Linked DNA regions of Homo sapiens: all the other regions are linked to region 3. The links are contacts of gene promoters, found by promoter capture Hi-C in human tissues and cell types (Jung and others, 2019). All regions are on one chromosome and are shown on one strand. Each heading gives the region's core, a stretch centred on a gene start or on the middle of the fragment in contact. The rest is flanking DNA. Distances are from core to core; before and after follow the strand shown. Region 1 holds the start of LOC124904896 (a long non-coding RNA gene). Region 2 overlaps KIAA1755. Region 3 holds the start of GHRH (growth hormone releasing hormone).

Region 1 (4,492 bases), core at 669-3,168, 660 kb before region 3:
GTGTGTTATATGACAGATGTTATATGACAGGTGTCTGGGTCTCCTGCAAGCTGGGAACTCTCCCAGGTCAGGGACCCTGCATTGCCCAGCCCAGATCAGGCACACAGGAGGTGGCTAGGCATGTACTAAACACATGAGTGAATGAATGAATGAATGAATCAATCAATCAATCAATCAATCAAGGGAGAAAGGAAGGTCAGACAAAAGCCCAGAGGATTGAAGTTCTAAGGAAAAAACCAATAGGCATAGAAATCATTCATTCATTCATCCAGTTCATTCATTCACTCAACATTTATTGGATGCCTACTATGTGCCAGATTGGAGTTTCCTGGGGGGACTGTGCCCACAGGAGCAGGGATAGGGACAGACATGTGGACACTATGGACATGCATAAGCAGGGAGGTCCTAAGTGAGGCTTGGCAGGCCGGCCTCCTCCCCACTGTCCCTCTCCTCCTGGCCCTTGTGGCCACTGGCTGCCCAAGGCCAGCCTGGCCCACCTGGCCCAGCTGAGGGGCCACCCAGCCAGACTGACAGGCAGGCTGGAGGCTCCCCCTGAGATGGCCCATAAAGTCATCTTGTGAAACGCAACCAAGAATGAAACAGGGCAATAAATAAAGGCTGACAGTGCCAGGAGTGGGTGGCTGCTTCGCCAGTAGCTCCCCAACCCTTGTTGGCTACGGGCCAGCCCAGCAGCCCCGTGGCATCATCTTTCTGATTGGAGCCCACGATGCAACAGGAAGGTGATGTGCCTGATCCCATATGATGCTCACAGTGATCCTGCTGGGCAGGGATCATTGTCCCTTTATTCCAGGCAGGGAAACTGAGGCTCAGGGACATGTGTCACAAGGTCACACTGCAAGTCAGGAGCAGGAGCTGGGATTCAAACCCAGACCTTGGGACTCTAGAATTCAAACACTTCCCTGTTTCTGCTGGCTCCGTTGTTGCAGTGATGAAGACAGAGTAAGGGGGCATCGACAGCCTCTGCAGCCACTGCCCACTTCCATACCTGGCCCTTTTCCAGCAGCGTGAGAAAACCAAAGCTCAGAGAACCTGGGGGCCATTGGAGCCAGTCTCCTGCCCCGGGGTTGAAGGAAGGAAGCCCCTCCTCTATGCCAGACACTGTACACAGGACCCCTTTCATCCTCTCAGACTTGATGAGATGGTACTATTATCAGCCCCATTTCACAGAGGAAGTGCCAAGGCTCAGAGAGGGAGAGTCGGTGCCTGAGATCACACAGCATCAAGGGACAAGTTAGAGTTCAGCCTGACTTCAAGCTGGCTGCAAAATTTCCCCCACTGAAGCCTAAATCTTATCTAAGCCCCATCCTTTTCAGCTAGAAAAAGTGTGATTCTCTGGGGCCATTTCCAGGAAGCCTGCTCTATGCCCAGCTCAGCTGGGTGGCAAGGCCACAAGGGTGTGTGTGCTCCAGGTTCAGGAAGGCCTGTGGCCACCTTGCCTCCCAGCTGGGAAGCAGAGTAAGAGCTCTCCCGGGGAAAGGGCTGGAGAGGGAGGATTTAATGAGGTCCCAGCCCAACCGCCTGTAAATCTCAGCTGGCTTCTAAAATCAGGAGACATAAAATCCCCATAAGAAGAAAACCCAGATAATCAGGATGGAAAAGCCCTCCAGAAACAGAGAAGCCTGGCTGTGTCCAGGGCCCTCTCCTCCCCAGGGAGGCACCCGAGGGTTCTCTTTGTTTCTTTCTGGGTAGCCCTTGGCCCCTGACAGGTGCCTGCGGCAGGAGGAATGGAGGTGTGAGTTCATGAAGGTTGCTTCACCTTGGGACAGGCAAACAAACGCAGATGGGCTTTCTTCCTAAGAAGCCAAGAAGAAGGCATTTTGTAAGAAAGCTTAGGGAACTGCAGCATGCCTTGGTGGGAGGTGTCTGCCTCAGCGTGCAGTAGGAGCTTAAGTCCTCCCTCAAAAGGAATGGAAGAGATCAGCTCTGATGGACCCCCTACCCTAAGCCAGGCCCCGTGCCAGGCTTCCCAGGATGCCACAGATCAGGCCCCTGCCCTCAGGGAGCCTGCAGTCCCCAGGAGAGACACACATGCCAGAGACTGCTATAGGAACAATGGCTGGGATTGAACCTGGACTGCCATGTACAGTTGTTCAGAATGTGCACTGTTCATATGGCCATGAATCATAGTGCTGCCCAGGGTTATGCAGGGCAAACTGCATGTTGGAGCTATGGAAGGAGGTGCAGGTTCTAGAAGATCCTAGGAGAAAGATAGGCTCGTGTCTGCCTGGAGAGTCAGGGGAGGTTACCAGGAGAAGGGGACTTGCTTGGACCTGAAGGCTGACTGAGGTTTGCACAGTCAGAGGGGACTCAGAACAGAAAAGGGCATACCAGAGAGGGGTCTCCCAAGCCCAGCCTTTTAGCTGCCATCACCATTTCCACAGGGTCCCTGTACCACATGCACCATTATTTACTTAATATTTATTTTCAAAGCATCTTTCCCCTTTTACTTAAATAAATTCAGGTTAAAAGAAGACTTTTATTACCGCCATAAATGAAAAATCAGCATCACTTGCCATAAATAGAGGGTAACTGTAAAAATAAACGCTATGAAAACCAAACAGCATTCGTAAATTCTAGCCAAAGAAGCTTGCCTGCTGAAGGCTATGAGCCTCAATCTCCGTTTTTTTCTCATTAACAAGGGAGACTGGCGAAGGTTAGGTGTTAAAGTCAGAGAAGCACCAGCAGAGACTTTCTTCTTAATCACAAGGGGCTTGGGACGCAGGTCCTGCTCAAGTGTGGACACCAGCGGGCACCCAGCACCAGCCCTGGCTTCCGATGGCCATGGCCCAATCTCACAACCCATCACTAGTTCCCACCTCCAAGCCTTGCTCCTGCTGGGCCACATACCTGGAAAGCTTCCCTGCCACTTCCCTATCCCAATCTTGCCGATTCTTCCAGTGTGGCTCTTGGGACAGCATCCTTGCCCGTAGTGAGAACTAACACCCACTTAAGGAATGAAAATACCTGAATTGCATACTTGGAGAATGAATGAACAAAGAAATGAATGGATGACCCCTTTATGGTCTGTGCTGCTCAAACCAGGAAAGCAACTTCCTGAGGCATTGACTTCACTCCAGAAACATGGGACAAGAACGTTATTTTTGTATTAAAACAAACATGAATATATTATGGGATAGAATATAGAAGTCATAAATTTTGAATGAAATAGGAGACATCAAAGAAATGTTGCCCCTGGTGAGAGCTGTTTACTCTCCTGCGTGGGCCGCACGCCATCAACGGCCTCTTGTCCCATCCAGTCCAAAGCCTCCTTCTCCGCAACCCCAGGCTCCGCAGAGCTCAGACTGTGCTCTACCCACAGGAAGTGCTGGTGTGGTGGCTAACAGGGGAAGGGGCCAGGGGGACGGTCGGGCACTAGGGCGAGGGGGAGCCCAGGATTTACGGTGAGGATGCAAGCCACAGCTCTCCCTGGCGTGCTGGGTGGCATTGTGCAAGCTGCTTCACTACTCTGAGCTCTGGTTTCCCACTGTGTCATTGATTACAGGCTTATTTTGAGGATTAAATGGGCAAATGCAAGTGAAGAGCCTGTTTCAGTGTGTAGCACCCAGAAGGTCCACAACAACCGCTGTTCCCTGGTGGAACCCACTCCTTGCTGAGCCTTAGACACAAGCACATTCACCCAGGTGGGTCCTTGCCTGTCTCTGGCCGATGGAGGAGGGGCCGCCCTGCCTAGTAAAAATTTAAATAGCTAACATTTTTTTTTTCTTTTTTTCTTTCTTTTTTGAGACAGAGTCTCACACCGTCGCCCAGGTTGGAGTGCAGTGGCATGATCTTTGCTCACTGCAACCTCCGCCTCCCAGGTTCAAGCAATTCTCCTTGCCTCAGCCTCCCAAGAAGCTGGGATTACAGGCGGCCTCCACCACGCCTGACTAATTTTTTTGTATTTTTACTAGAGACAAGCTTTCACTACATTAGCCAGGCTGGTCTTGAACTCCTGACCTCGTGATCCGCCCGTCTTGGCCTCCAGAAGTGCTGGGATTACAGGTGTGAGCCACCGCACCTGGCCAAAATTAACCACTTTAAAGTGGACAATTGAGTCGCATCTAGTGCATTCACAATGTGATGCAACTAGTCCCAACATGCTGTCTTCCCCCCAGAAGGAAACTCCTCACTCCCCACTCTCCCCTAACCCCTGGCAACCTCAAATCTGCATTCTCACATTTGCCTACTCCGGATATTTCATATCATCTGCATCATATAATATGTGGTCTTTTGTGACTGGCTTCCTTCATCTAGCATAGAGTTTTTGAGGTTCATCTACCATTGTCGCACACATCAGTAATTCATTACTTTTCATAGAGGTGTTTCTTTAATACAATAAAATATCCTACCTAATCCCCAAAACAACCTGGGAAGTGGCCACTATCATTGTCCTCTTCTTACAGATGGGGAAACTGAGGCACGGAGTGGGTGGGGACTTGCCCAGGTTCCCTGCCAGACACCCCGACATAGC
Region 2 (4,288 bases), core at 607-3,106, 980 kb before region 3:
GGCTGTCTTGAGGAAGAGCATTCTAGGCAGAGGGAACAGCCAGTGCAAAGGCCCCGAGGTGAGATTGTGCCTAGTGTGTTTGAGGGACAGGAAAGAAGGCCAGTGTGGCTGGCAGTGATGAGTGAGGGGGGTGGGGTAGGAGAGGAGGTCAGAGAATTAGCAGGGGCCTTAGGCATATGGGGCCTGGAAGGTCACGGGAAGTGGTCTCTGCCCTTATTATCATTGCTATTATCACCCCCTCCTCCTGTCCCCCACAGGACCCTCCATCCCTCGACACAGCCATCCAGCATGCCCTGGCGGGCCTCTATCCTCCTTTCGAGGCCACAGCACCCACCGTCCTGGGTCAGGTGTTCCGTCTCCTGGACTCTGGCTTCCAGGGGGATGGGCTGAGCTTCCTTCTGGATTTCCTGATCCCTGCCAAGCGCCTGTGTGAGCAAGTGCGAGAAGCAGCCTGTGTAAGTCAAGAGGGAAACAGGGACAGGGAACAAGCTGTTCCAGAAAGTCATGGGGCTAGAGGCGGGCAGAGAAGGAGGTGGGCTGGCCTGTGTCTTGTTTCACGGGGAGCTGAGGGTGTGGGGGGACTTTCCAAGTATCATTGCTTGCCCAGGGGGAGACATCAGCCCCCCAGATCGAAGGGGATTTACCTTGTGACATCTATGAGTTCATTACATTGTACTGTCACCAGCAGAGAAGAAGGCCTGAGTAAAGGCATCCTTGGGGGCTCCCTGGTCTTGGGGAGCCTGCCCTGCGCCTGACATTGTGGGCACTGCCAAGTGCCTTTGGTGAAGTGAGGCAGCTTCAGTGGAAATAGCAGAGAAGGTCCTAGAGCTTCCCTGGAGCCCCTGAGGCATCAGGACTCTTGCTTTCTTCCCCTGTGACCTCTTCAAACTCAGATCTCAGGGAGGCCTCTGCCAAGGCAAAGTGGAGAGAAAAGTGTTTTAGCCAGACTCATTGGCTGCAAATGACAGAATCCTCACTCAAACCAGGGAAGGGTGGATCAGGCCTCAGGCCCAAGTTGATCCACTGATCAAATCCCTTGAAGATCCTTTCTGTCCCTAGTCTCTGCTTTGCGCTGCTTGTTGGCATTATTCTTCCAGGCTAAGTGTTCCCACAAGGCTGGAACCCAGGGAAGCTCAAGGATTTATATTCTATCCTAGAGAGGAAAATAAACTCTTTCCCATCCACTGCACATAGAAAAATCTCAAGGAAGGATCCTGATTGGCCAGGCTTGGGTCATATGCCCATTCCTGGACCAATCACTGTGGCCAGAGGAGTGGGGTACCAGGATTGGCCAAGCTTGAGTCACGTGTCTACCTCTATGGTCAGAGGGTGGAGCTGTTTTAAGAAAAGGATGAGAAGGCCGGCAGTGGTGGCTCATGCCTGTAATCCCAGTACTTTGGGAGGCCAAGGCAGGTGGATCATGACGTCAGGGGTTTGAGACCAGCCTGGCCAACATGGTGAAACCCCGTCTCTACTAAAAATACAAAAATTAGCCGGGCGTGGTGGCACATGCCTGTAGTCCCAGCTACTCAGGAGGCTGAGGCAAGAGAATCGCTTGGAGGCAGGAGAATCGCTTGAACCCAGGAGGCAGAGGTTGCAGTGAGCCAAGATCACGCCATTGCACTCCAGCCTGGGTGGCACAGTGAGACCCTGTCTCAAAAACAAAAAACAAAAAACAAAAAACAGAAAAGGATGAGAGAAGCCTGAGGAGACCAAGCCGTCAAATGCCCACCACAGGAACTTGCCATTCCCTTCATGGGTTTCCCTACTGTTCCCTGCTCTGTTGTTATTAACATCCACCCTCCTGCTACCTCAGCCTCAAGAATCACAAAGAGGTTCTAAGGTCCCATCAGCCTGTCCTGAGTTGCCCACTGCCTGTCAGGGACACAGCTCATCAGAAGCAACAAGGAAGGGTGGGGACTGTGTGCGTCATTCCAGTGGTAGAAATAAATTGAACGTGGCAGCTAAAAGTCCAGGGTTAGGAACCAGAAGGAAAGTGAGATAATCTATTTTACATGCTTAGCACAGAGCCTGGCTCATAGATCATAGCTCAATACATGGGAACTAGTATTGGAGAAGAAGGGAGCTTCTCATGGAAGCATTTGCAGCCACTTCCACATGACACTATTTCATGCAGATGCTCCCCCATCCTTATTTCTTCTCCCTGACAAGCTACACAATTGCCCACTTCCCTTATTTGGCCATTTAAACTTCATTTGCACTGGCCGCTTCCTCAAGGTAACAACATTTCCGCGTCTTTATTTTTCCTTGTAGGTGAGTTTAATCTAATTGTAATGATAGGCAAATATCTGTCAATCTCAGAGCAATGGGAAGTCATGTGTGATTAACAGGATGGCTTCTGGGTTCAGATGCCCCAGGTTCAAATCCAAGCTCATCACTGTGAACTTTGGAGATCCATGCCACCTCTCTGAGTTTCAGTTTCCTTATGTGTCAAGCAGAAACGTTAATAACACAGCACCTAACACATGGAGATGACAACACATGGAGATGACAACACATGGCTTAGCAAAGACTCTGGCATGCAGCAAGTGCCCAGTAGCTATTGGCTATCGCTATCCCACTTCCTTGTTTCTCCATCTGAAATAAGAGCATGGCAGCCTCAAAGTCTGCCTCTCCAGCCACCATCACCCAGAAGCAGCCACCTTCACATGAAGTCTGGTGGGGCTTGGGGACAGATACAGCTGACTTGAAATGTGAAGGCCTAGGTCCAAGTCCCTGATGCTTATCAGCTGTGTGGCTATGAGCCAAATGTTTCACCACACTGAGCCTCAGTTGCATCATCTGTAAAATGAAAATAATAATGCCTGGACTGCCTACATCAAACTGAGTTACTGTGAAAGTCAAGTGAGATGAGCAAAGCCATCATCACTCTGGTGCTTTGCTGTTTGCAAAAAATGGCTGGGCTGTTTTTTCTCATTCAATGAGAAGGTGAGAGAGAAAGCATGTTGCAAACCCAAGAGGGCTAAGTGAAAAGGGTCGAGAAAACCTACAGACTCATGAAGGTTTATGGATATTAAGCTTCTCTGAGGCAGCCCAATCTACAATATGACTGATATAAATGGGTTTATCAACATAAGGTATAACTATGGTCAGATCTCACTATTTCCGCAATCAATAATTCCAGGAAACACCTGTTTAATTAGCAGGAAATTCAGTCTCACTCTCTGTACATCTCCCCTACACACATCCAAATTATATAAGATTGTCTGGGACTTACTCAATCCACAGAACTCAGACTCTTTTTCCAAAAGCCAGTTAAAGACCTGTTGTCAGCCCAGTGGAGCTGTTGTTTCCGTTGTTGCCACATGGTGTCACTGTTGAACACTGGTCCCGCACAGCCCAGTGGACAGGCTCAACTGAGAGGGATCACTTGGGTCACAGCCTGTTCCAGAATGACCCTCTGTACCCACCTATACAGGGAATTTCTGGCAACTCCTGTTAAAAAAAAATTTCTTTTTAAAGTTTTGCTTCACCTTCGTGTTATTATCCATTAATGGGAAATAAATAAAAAATAAACAAATAAGCCTTCATTTATTTAATGAGAAATAAATAAACAAACAAATAAAAAATAAACATTCAGGCCCAGAATAACCTTTGGGTCAGGAAAAACTGGACAGCCATCTAGTAAGTTAGTGGCAGGGTCAGATTTCCTGACTTCTCATTCAATACTGTTTCTACTTCACCCTCATACACTATCCAAATTCAATAAGATGTTCAACACTTTATTATAAAATAGGCATTGTGTTAGATGATTTTGGCCAACTGTAGGCTGATGTAAGTGCTCTGTGCACTTTTAAGATAGGCTAGTCTAAATAAGCTATGATGTTCTGTAGATTAGGTACATTAAATGCATTTTTGACTTATGATAGTTTCAATTTATGATGGATTTACCAGGATATAACCCCACCATAAATTGAGGCCATCTGTATAATCTCACTTAATCCTCATACCAACCCAGTAATACTGACATGTATTATTATCCTATTTGCAGATAGGGAAATTGGGGCTCAAAGAAGTTAAGCAATTTGCACAAATTAGCAACATAGACGTTTGTCTAAACCACGTCTCCCTGGCTTTAAAATGGAGGGCTAAGACTTGAATTGGGTTGGGAAATGTTCTGGATAGATGCAGAGAGGAAGGGAGCATGAGCCAAGCAAGGGGACCACTTGGGAAAGCCGATTGCTAACTAGTGCATGGTGCTCTGAGCTTTCTCACTTGGGTCAGTAGGCTAGGATTTCCAAGGTCAGGGCCAGGACGAGGGTGGGGC
Region 3 (4,277 bases), core at 325-2,824:
ACTGCACTCCAACCTGGGTGGCAAAGATAGGATCCCTCTCAAAAAAATAGTTTGAAAGTTGCTGTTCTATGTCAACTCTCAAGTTTCCAGGTAGAAACTGAGGCCCGGAGGGTAGAAGTTTTTTTTCTTTTTTTGAGACAGAGTCTCGCTCTGTCGCCCAGGCTGGAGTGCAGTGGCACGATCTCGGCTCACTGCAACCTCCACCTCCCGGGTTCAAGCAATTCTCCTGCCTCAGCCTCCTGAGTAGCTGGGATTACAGGTGCCCACTACCACACCCAGCTAATTTTTGTATTTTTAGTAGAGACGGGGTTTCACCATGTTGGTCAGGCTGGTCTCGAACCCCTGACCTCATGATCCACCCGCCTCAGCCTCCCAAAGTGCTGGGATTACAGGTGTGAGCCACTGCACCCAGCCAGGTAGAAGTAACTTCCTAAGGGTCACAGAGGTCATGATTGACAGGCTTGGGAGAGGCAGCAGGTCCCTAGACTCGAGGCTTGGAGCTCTTTCCACACCTCCACGACGGCCGCCTGGGAAACCAGAGCTTCTGCCTCCTGTGCTTTTATGTCATTCCTGAGGATTTCTTAGCTATAGGCTAGAGAAATCTGGAAACACAACAACTCTCCCAAGGTTTTCCATCTCTTCCCTCTCATTTCACACTTCTCTGAGGCAACTGCCAATGTCTGGCTGCCTTGACAGGTGACGACGGATGCCCCCAGGCTAGCTGTTGAAATCAGCCTGTGACCAAGCAGGTGTAAATCAAATAGTGCAGAATTCTGATAATTGGACGACAAGGGAGATAGGGAACAAATTCCCCACTAAGGAGAGAATAACGCTTATTCATAATGTTGTCTACCCAAAAGTGAAATAAAATTACACAGGGACAAAGCTAAATTATATGAACTTTTGAAAAGGCACATTTATCTTGGAGAATCAATAAACTCTTGGTGTTTCACTGTTATGAGTTCTCCAATTATTTTTAACACATATTTTTTCTTTTTTTAAAAAATATATATTTTGAGATAGAGTCGTGCTCTGTCACCCAGGCTGGAGTGCCATAGCGTGGTCTTGGCTCACTGCAACCTCCGCCTCCCAGGCTCAGGTGACACTCTTGCCTCAGCCACCTGAGTAGCTGGGACTATACCCATGTGCCAACATGCCCAGCTAATTTTTAATTTTTTTCTAGAGACAGGGTCTCATTATGTTGCCCAGGTTGGTCTCAAACTTCTGAGCTCAGGCAATCCACCCGCCTCAGCCTCCCAAAGTGCTAGGATGGCAGGTGTGAGCCACCGCGCCCAGCCGAGTTCTCCAATCACTATTATAGCAGTATATATTCTCTATATCCTCTTGGAATAATGTTACACCTTTGTACTATGTCCACTGTGCCAAAGATAAAAGGAGACTTTACCAGGAGTCTAAGTCTGCAAGGGGCCAAACCTCTTTCACCAACAGGGTTTGTCAGTGTGATATGATGCTAAAAACAGTCCTTTGGTTGACTTGTGGGTAATTGATTCTCTGACGCTGACAACGCTTAGGAAAATGAAGAGATAAATGATGGGAACGCCAGGCGGCTGCCAGAGCAAACACCCAGCCCAGGGCCCCTGGATTTGAGCAGTGCCTCGGAGCAGAGGGATATCTGCCGCATCAGGTGAGAGGGGTGGCCCTGGGGGGGCTAGGCTGGGTGGGGGTAAGAAAAGTTAACCTTCTCACCAACTTAGAAACACTGAGTCCAAGAGGCCCACCGCCATCCTCTTTGCCCATGGACTGGTGAGTACATTTGAGCCCCTCTCTGGATAAAATCACCCCTCAATAGGGGCTCTGGAATAGGCTTTTGATGGTGCTGTTTGGGGCTTGTCTTAACTTGGGCGCGTGGCGGACTGGCTCCAGGTGTCTGTCGCAGGTGGTGAGGTCTCAGTGCTCCTTCGAGGATGCGTGGGCAGGCTTCGGGGGCAAACGTGAGTTGGCTCGATTTTCCTGTCAGCGATGGGATTCTGCCATGGATCAGAGATGAGCCAAGTGGCTGTGCAAATCAATACTGCTCATTGATCACTCAGAACTGATTCAATGTAATTGCCGGGAAATTGATAACATTTTGCTTTCTTGCTCAATTGCAGCCACACTCTTTACTCCAGGTTTTAGACACAATTATCTGCCTTTGGAGTCCTCCGCTACCCCACGCCTGTCTCCTGATCCTTGCTTTAATGGTCCTGAAGTATTTGTGTCTTTCACCATAGACTGCCTCAAACCCCTTCTGGAAGGAGGTGGAGTGTCACTCTTTTGAATGACAGTTCAAGATGCTTCCTCATTAAAAACTTAGATTTCTTTTAACTTGGAATGCTGTCACTGAAACAGTTTATAAACCAGATCAGGAAGTCTATGCTTTGGGGTGCTCAAATTTCAAAGGGGGATATTCAAGGAAGGTTAAAGATGTTCTTTCCCTGGGTTTTCAAAAATGGCCTTGCGAATTTGGGTGCTTGAGACCTGACCTCTGTCAGCTGCAGGTGAATCTGCAGAATTCTCCTGGCATTCCTGGCATGAAAGCTGGCAAAAGGTGCCAACGGATGTAGATCAAGTGCCCGTTTATCCTGAATCCAGGCAATCTCAAGTACATCTAATCCCAGAATCAGTAAGCACTGCAGGAAGCTAACCGATGATCATAATGATAGATTATAAACTCTGGAGTGCCTTCAGTCATCAGGGTTGCCAGCAATGCTGTTGGGCTCGGCTACACTTCATTCAGTGAATTTTGACTCCTTAAGTTGTCATGTGGAATGTGTCTGTTGACAGCTATTTTATTTTATTCTTTGAGATGGGGTCTTGCTCTGACATTTAGGCTACTGTGCAGTGGCACTATCATGGATCACTGCAGCCTTAACCTCCCGGGCTCAAGCAATCCTCCCACATCAGCCTCCAGAGTAGCTGGGACTACAGGCATGCGCCACCATGCCTAGATAAGTTTTTTTTTGTTTTGTTTTGTGTGTTTTTTTTTTTGTAGAGATGGGGTCTCGCCATGTTGCTCAGGCTGGAGCTATTTTATCCTTAGTGACATAACCTCTATTCTTCTTATCTTACCCTACACTGGATAATTCTTGTTTCCCATTTTCATCCAGTGGGATCTGCAAACCCATGGATTCGGTTCTCATAGCTCAGAGGTTGCTGTGGGGTCTTGACCTATGCCTGGGGCACAGGATTTGTGGCAAATGTTGAGCCTCTTGGTTAACTTGTGCAGTTGCTGAGCCTTATCTTGAATGAGCGGGGTATTGTGTTTACTATGACTTGCCCTCCCCACCAAAGTCTGCCCTCCTATGAGGTTGTTTCAACTCCCTGAAACTACTGGGTGTGCATAGGGAGGGGCCAATCAAGCAGGTGTTCCTGTTTGTCCCTGTTCTTTCTTCCCCAGAGGCCCAACAACAAAGAGCAAGAAGCTTTCCTTTTTTTCAGACCCTTTCCCACGTGCAGGTGATGGAGGCTGAGGATCCCTGTGAATGGGGAATACTGTGAATAGAGCATTGTACCTGGGAGGCTGCTGCATGGAGCGGAAGGAAGTCTGCCGGCCTGGGAATGAGGAGGCCCACTCTGAAGTGCCCACTCCAAAACTAATTTGATGGAGGATCATGGAAAATGTCCTTGTCCTCTCTAGGCTCTTTTCCTTGGCTGTAAGAGGAGCATGGGGATGCCTGCTCCAGAGGGAGAGTGCAAGGATGGGTTGTGGAGCCTGATAGGGCACAGGGGCTGGGAATCACTTGTGCCAGCCCTTGGGAGAAGGGGCAGGCAGAGGGAGAGCTTAAGCCAAGAGAAGGGGTTTGAGCTTTATTCTGGAAGGAGTGGGGAGCCAAGGGCTTCTGAGCAGGGGAGGGAGGTGATTGGGGACCTAGATCTGCCTGAATCTTTAAAAGATCAGCAGCAAAGAAGGCAAGAAAGCCAGGCTGCAGCTGGGAGACAGAAAAGGCAGTGGTTTCTGTCAAGGGGCCCTGCTTGCATCCAGAGATCTCTCGGCTTAGGAAATTCCACTTCTGGAGAGGCAGCCTGGACCAGGTGGGGAGAAGGGGGACCAGACGTGGTATGGTGCGATGAGGAGGACGGAAGCCTGCCGAGCCTTGGTCTGAGGAACAAAAGCTTAAGTCAGACATGCGGAACATATCTAAAGGACCAGTCGTGTGGCTGTAGGTGCAGAGGCTCCAGCCCAGCAGGCGGATGTTACACAGCCAGCCCTCGGGGTAGATCCCGTGTTCTCATCTTTTCTCTAGCCCCAGTCCTTACCGGAACAGTAGAGGCTTAAC

What was found. Contacts are between HindIII fragments. The study calls those that stand out against the background at their distance.
Region 1: a fragment that was not itself captured here is called in contact with the fragment with the promoter of GHRH in region 3 in 1 of the 25 tissues and cell types used here (mesenchymal stem cells).
Region 2: a contact is called between a fragment that was not itself captured here and the fragment with the promoter of GHRH in region 3, in 2 of the 25 tissues and cell types used here (heart right ventricle and lymphoblastoid cells).

The regions. Positions count from the first base shown.
Region 1 is chr20:37,916,585-37,921,076 of GRCh38, reverse strand. All of the region lies in intron 1 of VSTM2L (V-set and transmembrane domain containing 2 like), which reads right to left. It overlaps LOC124904896 (a long non-coding RNA gene), which reads left to right and starts at 2,085. Exons shown (of 3, transcript XR_007067576.1): 1 at 2,085-4,492. RefSeq lists an enhancer at 3,349-3,850. The HindIII fragment of the contact is 6,050 bases long and covers 1-4,492 here.
Region 2 is chr20:38,242,096-38,246,383 of GRCh38, reverse strand. KIAA1755 reads left to right here. Exons shown (of 14, transcript NM_001029864.2): 2 at 258-455. Among named protein-coding and RNA genes, the nearest start is that of KIAA1755, 16 kb to the left of the region's middle. The HindIII fragment of the contact is 6,067 bases long and covers 1-4,288 here.
Region 3 is chr20:37,259,111-37,263,387 of GRCh38, reverse strand. GHRH (growth hormone releasing hormone) reads left to right here and starts at 1,574. Exons shown (of 5, transcript NM_021081.6): 1 at 1,574-1,645. The HindIII fragment of the contact is 8,848 bases long and covers 1-3,768 here.